2 separate regions of the Homo sapiens genome follow, and region 1 is linked to region 2. The links are contacts of gene promoters, found by promoter capture Hi-C in blood cells and fetal thymus (Javierre and others, 2016). All regions are on one chromosome and are shown on one strand. The core of a region is centred on a gene start or on the middle of the fragment in contact, and the rest is flanking DNA. Distances in the headings are between cores, read along the strand shown.

Region 1 (7,616 bases), core at 2,190-4,689, 1.4 Mb before region 2:
TGCAGTCAGCTAGAGTGAAGTGTGAAAGGCTCACTCTTGACATTTGGGCCCTTCATTCCTCCTTTATTCATCCATTTAACACATATTTATTGAAGAATGGTGTCAGGCACTCGGAGGCAAACAGAGTCCCTGCCCTCATGCAGACTACAGCCTATGCAGAAAGGGAGGAGACAGACGTCAATCAAATAGTCATACGAACACACATATCAGAGATGGTGAGAGAAAGGGGGGATGCTGAGAGGCCTCTCTCAGACCTAAAGGGTGAGTAGGCTTTGGCAGAAGAGGATATTATAAAGGGAACAGTGGTCTGGTGGCTTTTAAACGTTAGGCTTAATTCGTCCAGTAGAGGGCGACCACAGCCAGGCATTTGTGGCAATTCCTACTGCATCAGGAAAGCTGAAGGCTGAAGGTTTGCTTATCATCATCTCTCACTGAGTGTTGAAGGAGCACAAACTACTCACCAGAAACTAAGAATCCAAGTGTAAATTTACAGACGTCAATGTTGCTGTCTACCATTGCCCAACAGTTTGATGCAGATTCCTACCAAATGCCTACTGACCTTAATAAAGAAAAAAGAAAAAAAGTTAATAAGGCACAATTAAAGGAATCAAAATAAAAGCCCTTTTCTTGATTTGCACACATCCTCAAAGAGCTGCCTCAAGCACAGATACATACACATGTGACGTTTTCTTATTTATTAGTACTCCCCTCCACACAAACACACAAGTGCCTCATATCTGCTGTACCCCACATCCTCTACGGAAAGCATGCTACTGTGGATCTACCTCATGGATTATTGGTTTTATTCAGGCAGCTGATGAACAAATATAATTTTATATGTTGCCTATAGACATAAGGCAAAACAATCAATAATTTCCCACATCCCATTAAATGATTAGGGATGTAATCAGGATTAAAAACCAAGATATTTCCAGCGTACTTAAGGATAGATTTCTTTAACATCTACTATATATCAGCACTAGCGAGACTCTAAGTCATGTCACTTCCTTCCTTTAAAATTAATTCCCACTGCAGGCTGGGTACAGTGGCTCATACCTGTAATCCCAGCACTTTGGGAGGCCAAGGTGGGTAGATCACCTGAGGTCAGGAGTTTGAGACCAGCCTGGCCATTATGATGAAACCTCATCTATACTACAACTACAAAAATTAGCCAGGCATGGTGGCACACGCCTGTAATCCCAACTATGCAGGAGGCTGAGGCATGAGAATCACTTGAACCCAAGAGGCAGAAGTTGCAGTGAGCTGAGATCATGCCACTGCACTCCACCCTGGGTGATAGAGTGAGACTCAGTCAAAAAAAAGAAAAAAATCCCAATGCAATTAAAAATTTTCAGTTTTTTAAAAAATGAAAGCAATTCTCTGACAGGTAAAGGCCTGTGTGGTCTAGCCATTATCTATTATCCCAGACTAATCTCCTTTCCTTCTCATTATGTTTCAGACTTTCTTGTTTCCATGAAATTGCCATTTTCCATTTGCTGTTTCCCTTGCCTGAAACATTCTGCTTCCATCATCTAACTGGAGGCTTCTTATCATTCAAGTTCCAAATTGTTGCTTCCTAGGAAAAGACCTCTTTGACCACTCATTCCTGTCTGCCCTTCCCAACATGCAAAACAGAACCCTGATCTTTGGCTGGAAATGTTTTGGGTTTTGTTTGTTTGTTTGTTTGTTTGTTTGTTTGATGGAGACAGAGTCTCTCTCTGTCGCCCAGGCTGGAGTGCAGTGGCATGATCTCAGCTCACTGCAACCTACGCCTTCCGGGTTCAAGCAATTTTCATGCCTCAACCTCCCGAGTAGCTGGGATTACAGGCATGCGCCACCATACCCAGCTAATTTTTGTATTTTTTGTAGAAACGGGGCTTCACCATGTTGGCCAGGGTGATCTCGAACTCGTGGTCTCAGGTGATCCACCTGCCTTGGCCTTCTAAAGTGCTGGGATTACAGGTGTGAGCCACTGCGCGCGGCCTAGCTGGAAACTTTCCTGCCCAGTATATCAGTCATATTTCTCAGCCTCACTAGCAGCAGGATGTGGCCATGTTTCTGGCTAATGGGATGTAAACGGATATGTTCAGTGGGACTTCCTAGAAGCTTCCTTAAAGGGAAGCAGACAGGCCAGAGGAGGTGCCTCATGACTAGAATCCCAGCACTTTGGGAGGCTGAGCTGGGAGGATCACTTGAGGCCAGGAGTTTGAGACCAGCCTGGGCAACATAGTAAGACACCATCTTTACAAAATATAAATTTTTTCTTTTTTTTTTTTTGAGATGAAGTCTCGTTCTGTCGCCCAGGCTGGAGTGCAGTGGCACGATCTCAGCTCACTGCAAGCCCCACCTCCCGGGTTCACGCCATTCCCCTGCCTGAGCCTCCTGAGTTGCTGGGATTATAGGTGTGCACCACCATGCCCAGCTAATTTTTTTTGTATTTTTAGTAGAGACGGGGTTTCACCGTGTTAGCCAGGATGGTCTCAATCTCCTGACCTCGTGATCCACCCGCCTTGGTCTCTCAAAGTGCTGGGATTATAAGCGTGAGCCACCGCGCCCAGCCTGTTTTCGTTTTTTGTTTTTTTTTTCTTATTAGCCAAGTGTAGTGGTTCATGCCTGTAGTCCCAGCTACTCGGGAGGCCGAGGTTGGAGGATGGCTTGAGCCCAGGAGTTCAAGGATACAGTGAGTGAGCTATGATTGCCTCACTGCACTCCAGCCTGGGCAACAGAGTGAGAACTCATCTCAAAAAAAAAAAAAGTGGAGAGAAAAAAGGGGGAAGCAAACAGCTCTTCTTCCTATTTTCCCCTCTCCTGCTATCTGGAATGCAGATGTGATCACTGGAGCTCCTGAAAACACCTTGGATGCTGAGATGGCAGTGAGGATGGGAGGAAGAGCAGGTAGGGGCCTGGCTAATGGCACTGTGGGATAGGGGTGGAGTGTGCAATACCAGCCTCTAGATAACTTTGACGTGAAAAAAAAAAAAGTTTCTATCTAATTTAATACACTGTTATTTGCAGCTTGACTGTTACATGCCGCTAAACCTCAATACTAACTAAAAATATCACAGCCATCCCCAGACACATCACCTTATTTCTTCAGTGTCATTTCATTATTGGAAATACCTGGATCATTGTGTTTATCTGAGAGTAGGGATCTGGCCTGTCTTGTTCATTGCTGCATCCCCAGCATCTGCTGCAATGTGATGTTTCCATGCCTTCCCAGAATTTCAAGAAATAAATTGTAATGATCTTCATGGAAATGTTACTGGTCAGGAATTCCATCGATATCAACAGCTAGTGATGGTGCAGCAGTAACGAAAAAATTTGGAAAGTTTTCAGCAAATGTGTTCCTTCTTGCTGTAACAAAAGTGTTTTACTCAAAAACTGGAGGTTACAGCATCAGAAACAACTGGCAGAGGAGGTGAACACAGTGTAGTCTGTCTATGACACAGATGAAAGCAATTACTCTGATTCAGATGATGTGGCTGGAGCCAGTCAGTATAATCCACAAGGTCGTGTCTTTCTGGCAATTTTTAGAAAAAGGAAAGTTGTAAAACTGTTTACATTTTCTCCAATAAGAAATTCTCTCTTGCATAAAGAAAGAAAAAAAACACAGGCCGGGCACAGCAGCTCACACCTGTAATCCCAGCACTTTGGGAGGCCAAGATGGAAGGATAACTTGAGCTCAGAAATTTGAGACCAGCCTGGGCAGCATAGCGAGCCCCTGTCTCTGCTAAAAATAAAAAAATAGCTGAGTGTAGTGGTGCACACCTGTAGTCCCAGCTACTCAAGAGGCTGAGCCAGAAGGATCACTTGAGCCCAGGTGTTAAGGCTTGCAGTGAGCTATGATCGTGCCACTGCACTCCAGCCTGGGTAACACAGTAAGACCTTGTCTTAAAAAAAGAAGAAAGGGGGCCAGGCACGGTGGCTCATGCCTGTAATCCCAGCACTTTGGGAGGCCAAGGCGGGCAGATTACCTGAGGTCAGGAGTTCGAGATCAGCCTGACCAACATGGTGAAACCCTGTCTTTACTAAAAATACAAAAATTAGCTGGGCATGGTGGTGGATGCCTGTAATCCCAGCTACTTGGGAGGCTGAGGCAGGAGAATTGCTTGAGCCCAGGAGGCGGAGTTTGCAATGAGCTGAGATCACGCCATTGCACTCCAGCCTGGGCGACAAGAGTGAGACTCTGTCTAAAAAAAAAAAAAAAGGAAGGGAGGAAGTAGGGGGGGCAGGAAGAAAGGAGAGAGAAAATGGAATATTGTCAAATTGTGAGAGAGACAATAACTTGCTTAAAACTTGTTTGATTAGTAGTTGAAGCATTAAGTAATCATGATGCAAATCTTCTAATCGAAAACAGACTTGTGCTTTGAGTAGTATGCTTTTAAAAGAAGTTAGAATTGAATTATTTAATGCAGAAAAAAGATCTCATATTTCTCATTAAAATATTTCAGCAGTTAGTTTATATGAGGTTGACAACTCTTTTTGCTTCAGCAAACAAAAATGAAATGGCTCAATTAGCAAAATCATTAAGGAAAGACTTTTGTGGAGGAAAATATGCTTTATCAGAAGCAATGCAAAGAAGAGTGAATATTGTTGGGAACTATTCCATCACGAAGTCAGAAACATCTAAAATCTGAATTAGCGAAAATAACATAGACTTCAAGGAAAAAAATCAAAACCAGTGAAAGAAGACAATTATTTTCATCATTAAGAAAAGTGAATGAGTTTATAATAACCAACACGTACCCTAATGCTCAATTCGAAGAAGCTTGTAGACACATTCTTAGTAATAATAAATTAACATTAACAGAGGATGAAAAAACATTCTACACCTGGAATATTTGTCAGGAAACAAGGACCAAGACATTCAGGGCAATTCATGCTTTATGTGTTTTTCAATTTCATTTTAAGAATAACTTTTGGCCGGGCGCAATGGCCCACGCCTGTAATCCCAGCTCTTTGAGAAGCCAAGGCGGGCAGATCATGAGTTCAGGAGTTTGAGACCAGCCTGGGCAGCATGGTGAAACCCTGTCTCTACTAAAAATACAAAAATTAGCCGGGCGCAGTGGCATGAGCCTGTAATCTCAGCTATTCGGGAGGCTGAGGTAGGAGAATTGCTTGAACCTGGGAGGCGGAGGTTGCAGTAAGCCGAGATTGCACCACTGCACTCCAACCTGGGTGACAGAGCAAGACTCCGTCTCCAAAAAAGAATAACTTTTAAAATGTAAATGTTTGCAGTATTATCTTTCAATTGTTTGAATCATTTTATTTGGCATTATTGTGTGTTAATGTTCCCTTCTTTTAATATATTCTATTGTCTAACTCAGGTAGAAATTATTTTTATGGGTCATTGAAATGTAGTGTAATCTTGTCTCAATATATATGTCCATAATAATAATAAACCATATAACCCATGCATTTATTATCACTGTCTGGGGGGATTTCTTGTTTGTTTTGGTTGCAGAAAGCTTTAGAAACTTTTTGTATAATCCCATCACAGAAAAATGGTCCGCTATTTACTAGTGTAGTCAGTCATTGTTTTTAAAAACATACCAAGAAGATGTTATGGGGAAATGTAGATAACTTATGATTTTGAGGATCACCAAGAATTCTCAAGAATTCTAGTTTTTTGTTCCAGAATCCTGCAGATTAATAACTCTTAGAAATTATCAAACACTAGTACAGTGCCTGGGATAGAGTAGACATCAGCATATATTTAGAATGAATGGGTATTATTTTGTTTAATAGTCACAGCAATCCTGTCAAGAAGATGCAAATGTGCCCATTTTACTCATTAGAAATACCTGGATCTCCTTTGAGGTTCCTGTGAGACAACACCTTTAGGAGTCTTAAAAGTTCTATTGTTTACTGAGATGGTCTATGAGGCACATCCTTGAGATTCTTAGACATACTACTAGGCCTGCCCTTAAATTTTTCTGACAAAGCATCTTATTCTGGATTTGATCTTAGGCCCTAGAGATATTTATTATTTGGGAATCTTTTAATGGAAAAGACCAGGGATAAGCAACAGTTTTATTTTATAACCCAATATTTGTACTTTTCCATTTTTGCTAAGAACTTGAACAATTTTTCTTTTTTCTTTCTTTTTTTCTTTTTTTTTTTTTTTTTTGAGACAGAGTCTCACCCTGTCGCCCAGGCTGGAGTGCAGTGGCGTGATCTCAGTTCACTGCAACCTCCGCCTCCCGGGTTCAAGTGATTCTACTGCCTCAGCCTCCCAAGTAGCTGGATTTACAGGCGTGCACCACCACACCCTGCTAATTTTTTATATTTTTAGTAGAGACAGGGTTTCACCACATTGGCCAGGCTGGTCTTGAACTCCTGATCTCGTGATCCTCCTGCCTCGGCCTCCCAAAGTGCTGGGATTAGAGGCATGAGCCACTGCACCGAGCCCACAATTTTTCTTTAGATCATCTCTCCTGTCTCATATTTTGTCATAGGCAACTGAAAAAAGCCAGTTGGCACCTTCTACATTCTGCTTGGACATCTCTCTAGCCAACCCCACAAGCTGTTAAGCACTCTTTCTGTTTTCCACGTTCCCATAGGCGACAGTGTCCTCACACTTTCTGTCGCTACATAAAGAGTCCTCTGTTTTCCAGCCCCTATAAATACTTTGCTCAGTCTTTCACACCCTCACCCATAGTCTCCTCCTGGCTTTTTCTGCTTCTCCCTGACACTCTGTCCCAAAGCCAGTGCCATATGGTTTGGGTATTCGTTATGATAGCACCCCACTTCCAAGTACCAAATTCTGCCCAAGTATCTATTATTACTGCACAATACTGTAGTGGCTTGAAACAACCATTTATCATGACTATCTTCAAACAGGGCACAGCAAGGGACAGCTCATTTCTGCTCCAGAATGCCTGAGGCCTCAGCTGCAAGACTGGAATAGCGGGGGGACCAGAACAACCAGGGGTTGGCTGGGCATCTGTTTCTCTTTCTCCCTCTGTCTGTCTGTCCCTCCCCACCCGCCTTTCCACAGTTTCTTCCTGCAGCCACCTTAGGCTTCCTTATTCGATGGCAGCCTCTGGGTAGTCAGACTCTCACAGGGAAGCTCGGGGCTCCAATCAATGTCCTAAGAGACAGGAAATGGAAGCTGCCAGTCTCTTAAAGCCAAGCTTGGAAACCAGTACAGTGCCACTCCCCGGATATTCTACTGGTCAAAGCAGTCAGACTCGAGGGGAGGAGACATAGGTCCCATTTCTCAATGGGAGCAGTGTCAAAGAAGGTATAGTTGTCTTTCACCTATTATTATTCACCTATTTTACTATGGTTATAATAATATGGTAAAATAATATGGTAAAGCTTTGTGATAACAAAGATTATAAAACTTTATTATTATTATTATTATTATTATTATTATTATTATTATTACTGAGAGGGAGTCTCACTTTGTTGCCCAGGGTGGAGTGCAGTGGCACGATCTCAGCTCACTGCAACCTCTGCTACCCAGGTTCAAGCGATTCTCCTGCCTCAGCCTCCCAAGTAGCTGGGATTACAGGCACCTGCCACTGTGCCTGACTAATTATTGTAGTTTTAGTAGAGACGGGGTTTCACCATCTTGGCCAGGCTGGTTTTGAATTTCTGACCTTGTGATC
Region 2 (6,783 bases), core at 3,855-6,354:
AGCAAAAAATGCCACCTCATCAGTTATTTATGGTATTGTAAGATCATAAATTTGATTTATAACCCAAAACATTTATAGGAAGAAAAAACTGGTTTTGACTTATAACCCAAAACATTTTATGGAAAGAAAAGGAAAAGTCTTAATATGACTATATGAACTTGAGCCAGGGGGCTGCAACAGTAACTACAAAGTTCCAGTTGACAGAAGTAAGTGAAACCAAAACAGTCCTCAGATCTTTTCTCTAAGCCTGTCTGAAATCCAGCCATGCTAAGAGCTTAGGACTATCAATTGTCCATTTGCTGAGATTACTTTCCAACATACCCCGGTTCATTCTTAGGTACTTAAACATTTGTTTATTTAGTTACGTTATTTTGACTGAAACTTCACACAATTTTTTTTTGGCACCAAGATCCTTGTTCCACAGAATCAGTCAATGCCAGAGATGTCTGATGAAATCTAAAAATGTCAGCACTCAGAAAAATGTTCAAACCTCCTTCTATTGCTGATATCTCAGACACTATGATGTGTCACAATGCAGATATAATGTAATATAAAACTTCTAAATACAATTTCAGCTTTGAGTCTGCAGTACTCAGGTACAGATTCCGTGTGCAATAGATTTACTTTCTTCCTAGATTTTTGTCTTATCTGTTCCCAGAAAATCAGTCATTTATCTAGACAAAGACCCATGATAGATTATTTTCTCCTTCACTTGATTCCATTCTTGCCCCATAACTTATCAATTTTTATTTTTTAAAATGTCTCAAGTTTCAGTTTTTAAGAAACCAATAGTGTCATACTAATATGTTTCAAAAACAAAATAATAAATTAACTATCATTGGATGTCATACTAACTTTTCAAAGCTGATTTTATTATGGGACATTCTAGAGTGAATCTGTGCCCACTTACCAGAATTGTTTTAAGTGTATCTTTTGGGACCTGAAAACTCAGATATTTCAGCTCTCCAGGTGTGCTCATGAAGTAAAACACCTATGCTTGGAGTTCAAACATTTTTTAAAGACATGTTAAATTGATTCCTATATTAGTTCGTTCTCATACCCCAGACTGGGTAATTTATAAAGGAAAGAGGATTAATGAACTCACAGTTCCACATGGCTGGAGAAGCGTCACAATCATGGCGGAAAGCAATGGAAGAGGAAAGGCACATCTTACATGGTGGCAGGCAAGAGCGCTTATGCAGGGAAACTCCCATTTATAAAACCATCAGATCACGTGAGACTTATTCACCACCATGAGAACAGTATGGGGGAAACAGCCCCCATGATTCAATTATCTCCACCCAGCCCTGCCCTTGACACATGGGGATTATTACAATTCAAGGTGAGATTTGGGTGGGGACACAGCCAAACTATATCCGCTCCCTACCTTTTCAACAGCTTGAAGTCATTAATGGTAAAGTTGTGATACATTTGGTTCATGTGACATCATCTTTTAAAAATCCTAATAGGATTAGAACAAATTCATTTTTAGTCTAAACTTCTTTAGAAATAAGACGTTTTCTGATTATACTTAATTTTAAGAGGAAATGTACATTCATAACAAATTATTATTATCCTTTTCAAGACCTGCATTATATTTAATGCCTTTTAAAAATGTGTAACCCCATCTCTGTGTTTATAAAAGAATAAAATTACTTCAGTTCCACTCCTAGGTCACTCCTATCTGAGTTGGTTTGGAAGGTGGCGGTTATGTGGGACATGGGGCCCTTCTGACTGCTTGCTGCTCTCTGTGATATGCCCTGCTCTCAATAGCACCCAGAAGTTTTACCTGCCTTTCAGTTTACATCAGTTTACATGTGAAACTGATATGAAAATGGCCCTTTGAAACAAGAGATGTGGGAGTAGCCTTAAATTATTCAGGATCTTTATTATTAATGAATGTGCTTCTGTGAGCCCTTAAAAATAGTGCAGCCTCAAAGATTACTGTTTTGCATGCAATTGCTAGACAACCAGAACAAGAAATCAACTCTACACAGGAATGCTACATCTGGAAACCTGATTTTACTCAGCTTCTGTCTTCTAGAACTGCTGAGTCATTTTTACGGAGGTTCCACTAGAATGCTTCTCTGCGGAAACTAAGAAAGGTAAGGACTTGGTGTAGAGGCAGATAGATCATATCTTCAGCTATCCTGTTGACTGGCCGGGAGGCTGGACCCTTCCAGGCCTACCTAGGAACTTCAGGAATTTCTACACCAAGAAGAGTTCTAAACTGATTTCCCATGCTACAACTTTTCTAAAAAATCTTATTTGAATATATATGGAAACTTGCTAGGTTTTGGGAAGTCTTAGATTACCACTATTATTATTATTATTATTATTATTATTATTGAGGCAGAGTCTTGCTCTGTCACCTAAGCTGGAGTGCAGTGTCACATCTTGGCTCACTGCAACCTCTGCCTCCAGCTTCAAGCAACTCTTTTGCCTCAGCCTCCCGAGTAACTGGGATTAGAGACACCCACCACCACGCCTGGCTAATGTTTGCATTTTTAGTAGAGATGGGGTTTCATCATGTTGGCCAGGCTGGTCTCAAACTCCTGACTTCAGGTGATCTGCCTCCTTCAGCCTCCCAAAGTGCTGGATTAGAGGCGTGAGAGCCACTGTGCCTGGCCACTGTTATATTTTTAAAGAATGAATGTAATCAGATTTTTCTTTAATTTTGCTTTCTGTAAAATGTTATTTATCTGCCCAAATAACTTGTGCTCTAATTCATTCATTCATTAGAAGGAGGGTAAAGTATTATTTAAATGTAATTATCATATAACTTTTTAAAAACAGTTTTAAACTACCCATGATAACACAGGTAGTTATGTACCCATGTTACATCTTTTTCTGAGAACTAATAAGGCTTTTCTTACACCACAACCCATTCTTTTTGCTGAAAATGAATATATATGTGTATATATATAGTATATTAGACACACACAGAGACTTCAAAAGTTCATGGAAAAATGGAATTAAAAGATAAAAATAAAAACAAATTTATTTATCAGCATAAGCCTTATCAAGTTCAAGACACTTTTGTAAGTGATAATACCAGCCATTTAGTCCATCCTTAAAGAACCGAGGATCCTGAGAATTTAACCATGTCAGTGCAGTCCTTTTGACATTATTAACTGAAGAAAACTAGGTGCCCTTTGAAGATTTTTTAAGATTAGGAAACAAAAAGAAAAGAGAAGGAGCCAAATCAGAATTGTAAAGTGGATACCTAATGATTTCTCTTCAAATCACTTGCAAAATTGTCCTTATGTGATGAGAAGAATGAGCAGAAGCAGTGTCATGGAGGACTCGCTGGTGATGCTGTCCTGGGTGTTTTTCTGCTAATGCTTTGGCTAACTTTCTCAAAATGCTCTCATGATAAGCAGATATTATTGTTCTTTTGGCCCGTCAACAAGCAAAATACCTGGAACATCCTAAAAACTGTTGCCAGAACCTTTTCTCTTGATAGGTCTGCTTTTGCTTTGACTGGACCACTTCCATCTCTTGGTAGCCGTTGCTTTGATTGTACTTTGTCTTCAGGATTATACTGGCAAAGTCATGTTTCATCTCTTGTTACAATTCTGCAAAGAAAGGCTTCAGAATCTTGGTCCCACATGTTTAAAATTTCCATTGACCCTGCTCTTGTCTGCAGCTGATCTACGTGCAATGGTTTTGGCACCCTTCTGGTAGAAAGCTAGCGCAACTTCAATTTTTCAGTTAGAATTGTGTAAGCTCAATCAGTTGAGCTATCTATGGAGTTGGCTATTGTTTCTTCTGTTAATTGTCCTCTTAAATTACAGCATTCACATTTCTTTAAAGAAAAAACTTCATTTTTTTCTTGCAAACTGATGTGGATGGTCCACTGCTGTGGGTTTCATCTTTCACATCCTCTCATCCCTTCTCAAAATGAGTTATCTCTCTGTGAACTACTGATTTCTTTTTTCCTTTCTTTTTTTAAAATTTAATTTTATTTTAAGTACTGGGATACATGCGTAGGACGTGCAGGTTTGTTACACAGGTAAACATGTGCCATGGTGGTTTGCTGCACCTATCAGCCCATCACCTGGGTATTAAGCCCTACATGCATTAGCTATTTATTCTGATGCTCTTCCTCTTCCTGCACCTCCAACAGGCCCCAGTGTGTGTAGTTCCCCTCCCTGCATCCATGTGTTCTCATTGTTCAGCTCCCACTTATAAGTGAAAACATGCAGTCTTTGGTTTTCTGTTCCTGTATTAGTATGCTGAGGATAATGGCTTCCAGCTCCACCCATGTCCCTGCAAAGGATATGATCTTGTTCCTTTATATGGCTGCATAGTATTCCATGGTGTAAACTATTGATTTATTTGGGGCATTGTCCCCATAAACTTTTTGTAAAGCATCAATGATTTTACTATTTTACCACCCAAGTTTTACCATAAATTTGACGTTTGTTCTTGCTTCCATTTTAGCAGAATTCATGTTGCTCTCAAGAGCTATTTTCAGACTGATATCTTATCCTTCTTAATGCTTCAAACTAAATCCTGTTCAGACATGCTTCAACAATCTAGTGTGAGTTTATTTTGGTACAAAAAAATTTTGAAATCCTTGCCTATTTTTTTTCAGAATATACATTTTCCACAAACCTCTTGTGTGTGTGTTGTTTGAACAATAGTTGCAACATGAAACAATTAACAAAGGTAGCTAATTGACTACTCTTTTAAAAATTAATTATTAACAGAATCCTATGTATACATATACATACATGTATGTATATATGCATATATATGACAAGTTGATAGCTTTTGTTAGAAATTTAATATGTAGAATGATTTAGCATAGTATTATTAGAAATTTAAGTATTGAGAGTTTCAAATTTTGTTCTTAAAGTTCAAGTAAATTGATATCATCTTAAAGTAAGAATACAGTCCACTCTTAAAATTACAATGCCTCAAAGCCTCTAAGTCATCATGGTATTAGTTTCAGGAGCTGTTCTCAGTTTTCTGAGAAGCGTGGTCAGTATCAGGAGCCTCTGCTTCTATGTTTCTCCCTGTTTTCTTCCTCCCAAGATATTTCAGTCACCTTGAACACCTTGCAGTCACTTTCCACAGGTAAAATGATTTGTTTAGTTGCCTTTTTGTTCCCCTGTCCTCATTCCTCTGCTGCAAAACCTTCTGCTTAAAATACTGGTTCATTTCTAGTTACAGGGACCCACTTGCCATCTGTCATTCCAGGAAATTTGTGAAATGGATCCAGATAAACAAGGTGAGTATTATTGTCAAGTTTCTGAGCATAGTTTGTAAACAGAAAAATTAGGCACAGATGTTATATTTTCAGACCTCTGATTTGAAGAAGAGTAAACATTTGGCAAATTTCTGGCTGAAAAAGAAACTGTTATTTGATTAAAGTGGCTTTCTCTCTCTTCTAAACAGAAATCCACCATGTACTGAAGAGTATCTGGTCTATTGTCTCGAAAGCACCAAAAATAATCTAACAAAAGACTTGATGTCAACATAATTACATTTGAATTGCTATTCAAATACACAGAAACTATTACCTTAGTTTTATGTATATTCATAGTTTACTATTAAAATGAAATTATCGTATATATTTTAATGTCATAGGTAAGTTCACAGTACTGTGTAGTTCAAGTTGGGAGAAAGGTCTCACAGTTGTCACTATATGAAAATTTTATAAGTGGATATGGAGAAACTAGTTCCCCTTTCTTCTAACATCGCTGAATGCCAAGTTAGGCCCAGAACTGATCTGTGGGATTTCTATTGCTAGATCTGTTTGGAGCCTTACTCCCCTAACCAAAATCTACATTGTTATCTTACTTGTTTTATATGAAATTCTGTATGATCCCTAGTTGTTTATCTAAAACAACATTATAAATGATTACAATACCTTTGGGTTTTCCAAATTTGGGCTCTCATATTAATACGCTTTACACAAAGCAGTAGGTAATCCATTCAACTCTCAATTTTCTTCTTTCTCAATTTTCTAAGGCAGTGTGTCTCAAAATTAGCATGCATCAGAATCACCTGAAAGGTTTGTTAATATGCTGCAAAGTTTGTGATTCCGTGGGTCTGGGAAGAGTCCAGGAATGTACATTTCTAACAGGTTCCCAGGTGACATGATGCTGCTGGCTTGGGACCACACTGTGAGGACCACTGGCCTACAGCATCTATTTTGGATCATTGAACTAGATGATGGACATTTGAAAGAATTGTATTATATCCACCTTAGTATCTGTGGAAAATAAATATACTGATGTAGCTGAGCAAAAACAAGAATCCTGGTCAAAAGATATTTCCCAATCATTTTGCTTCCATGAAGAAGAACACATGTAGCTTGTGTTACTATTTCTTTAAGCATCTAAAACTGCTTTGTTCATAGCTTTGGGCGTGATACATTTGGTAGTTTCTTCCTTTCTTGAGTTTGTTTTGTGTGTGTGTGTGTGTGTGTGTGTGTGTGTGTGTTTGCATCGGCAGAAAAAAAATGTAAAAGTTAGCCTTGAGGAAGTGGGTCTGGTGTTGGCTCACCTGGGCTCCTCATTCATTTTCCATGTTGCACTGTATCACAGCTTGCCGTGTTATGCTGCCTAACTTCATCAGATGACGCTGTAAAGCATAACTTGACAGGAGAGTGATGGCCAGATGGTAGAGCAGCTACAGAGTCGCTCCTCTACCAAGAGCAGCATCTGGGAACTTGCAGAGCCCCTTGTCTGCTGATTCTGTGTATCTGCTTGGTGCATCTGAGAGGAACCAGGGCACAAACATTGGCCAATTTCCAGAGGAAAGAAATGT

Evidence for each region. Contacts are between HindIII fragments. The CHiCAGO score rates a contact against its expected background, and 5 or more counts as called.
Region 1: a fragment that was not itself captured here is called in contact with the fragment with the promoter of DYTN in region 2 in 5 of 17 cell types (activated CD4 T cells, naive B cells, total B cells and 2 more); the score reaches 8.7 in activated CD4 T cells.

Annotation. Positions count from the first base shown.
Region 1 is chr2:208,065,206-208,072,821 of GRCh38, reverse strand. It overlaps LOC105373854 (a long non-coding RNA gene), which reads right to left. Exons shown (of 4, transcript XR_923815.3): 2 at 3,121-3,291; 3 at 462-559. Among named protein-coding and RNA genes, the nearest start is that of PLEKHM3, 43 kb to the right of the region's middle. The HindIII fragment of the contact is 2,662 bases long and covers 2,109-4,770 here.
Region 2 is chr2:206,716,717-206,723,499 of GRCh38, reverse strand. It overlaps DYTN (dystrotelin), which reads left to right and starts at 5,104. Exons shown (of 12, transcript NM_001093730.1): 1 at 5,104-5,239. The coding sequence starts at 5,221. The HindIII fragment of the contact is 17,717 bases long and covers 1-6,783 here.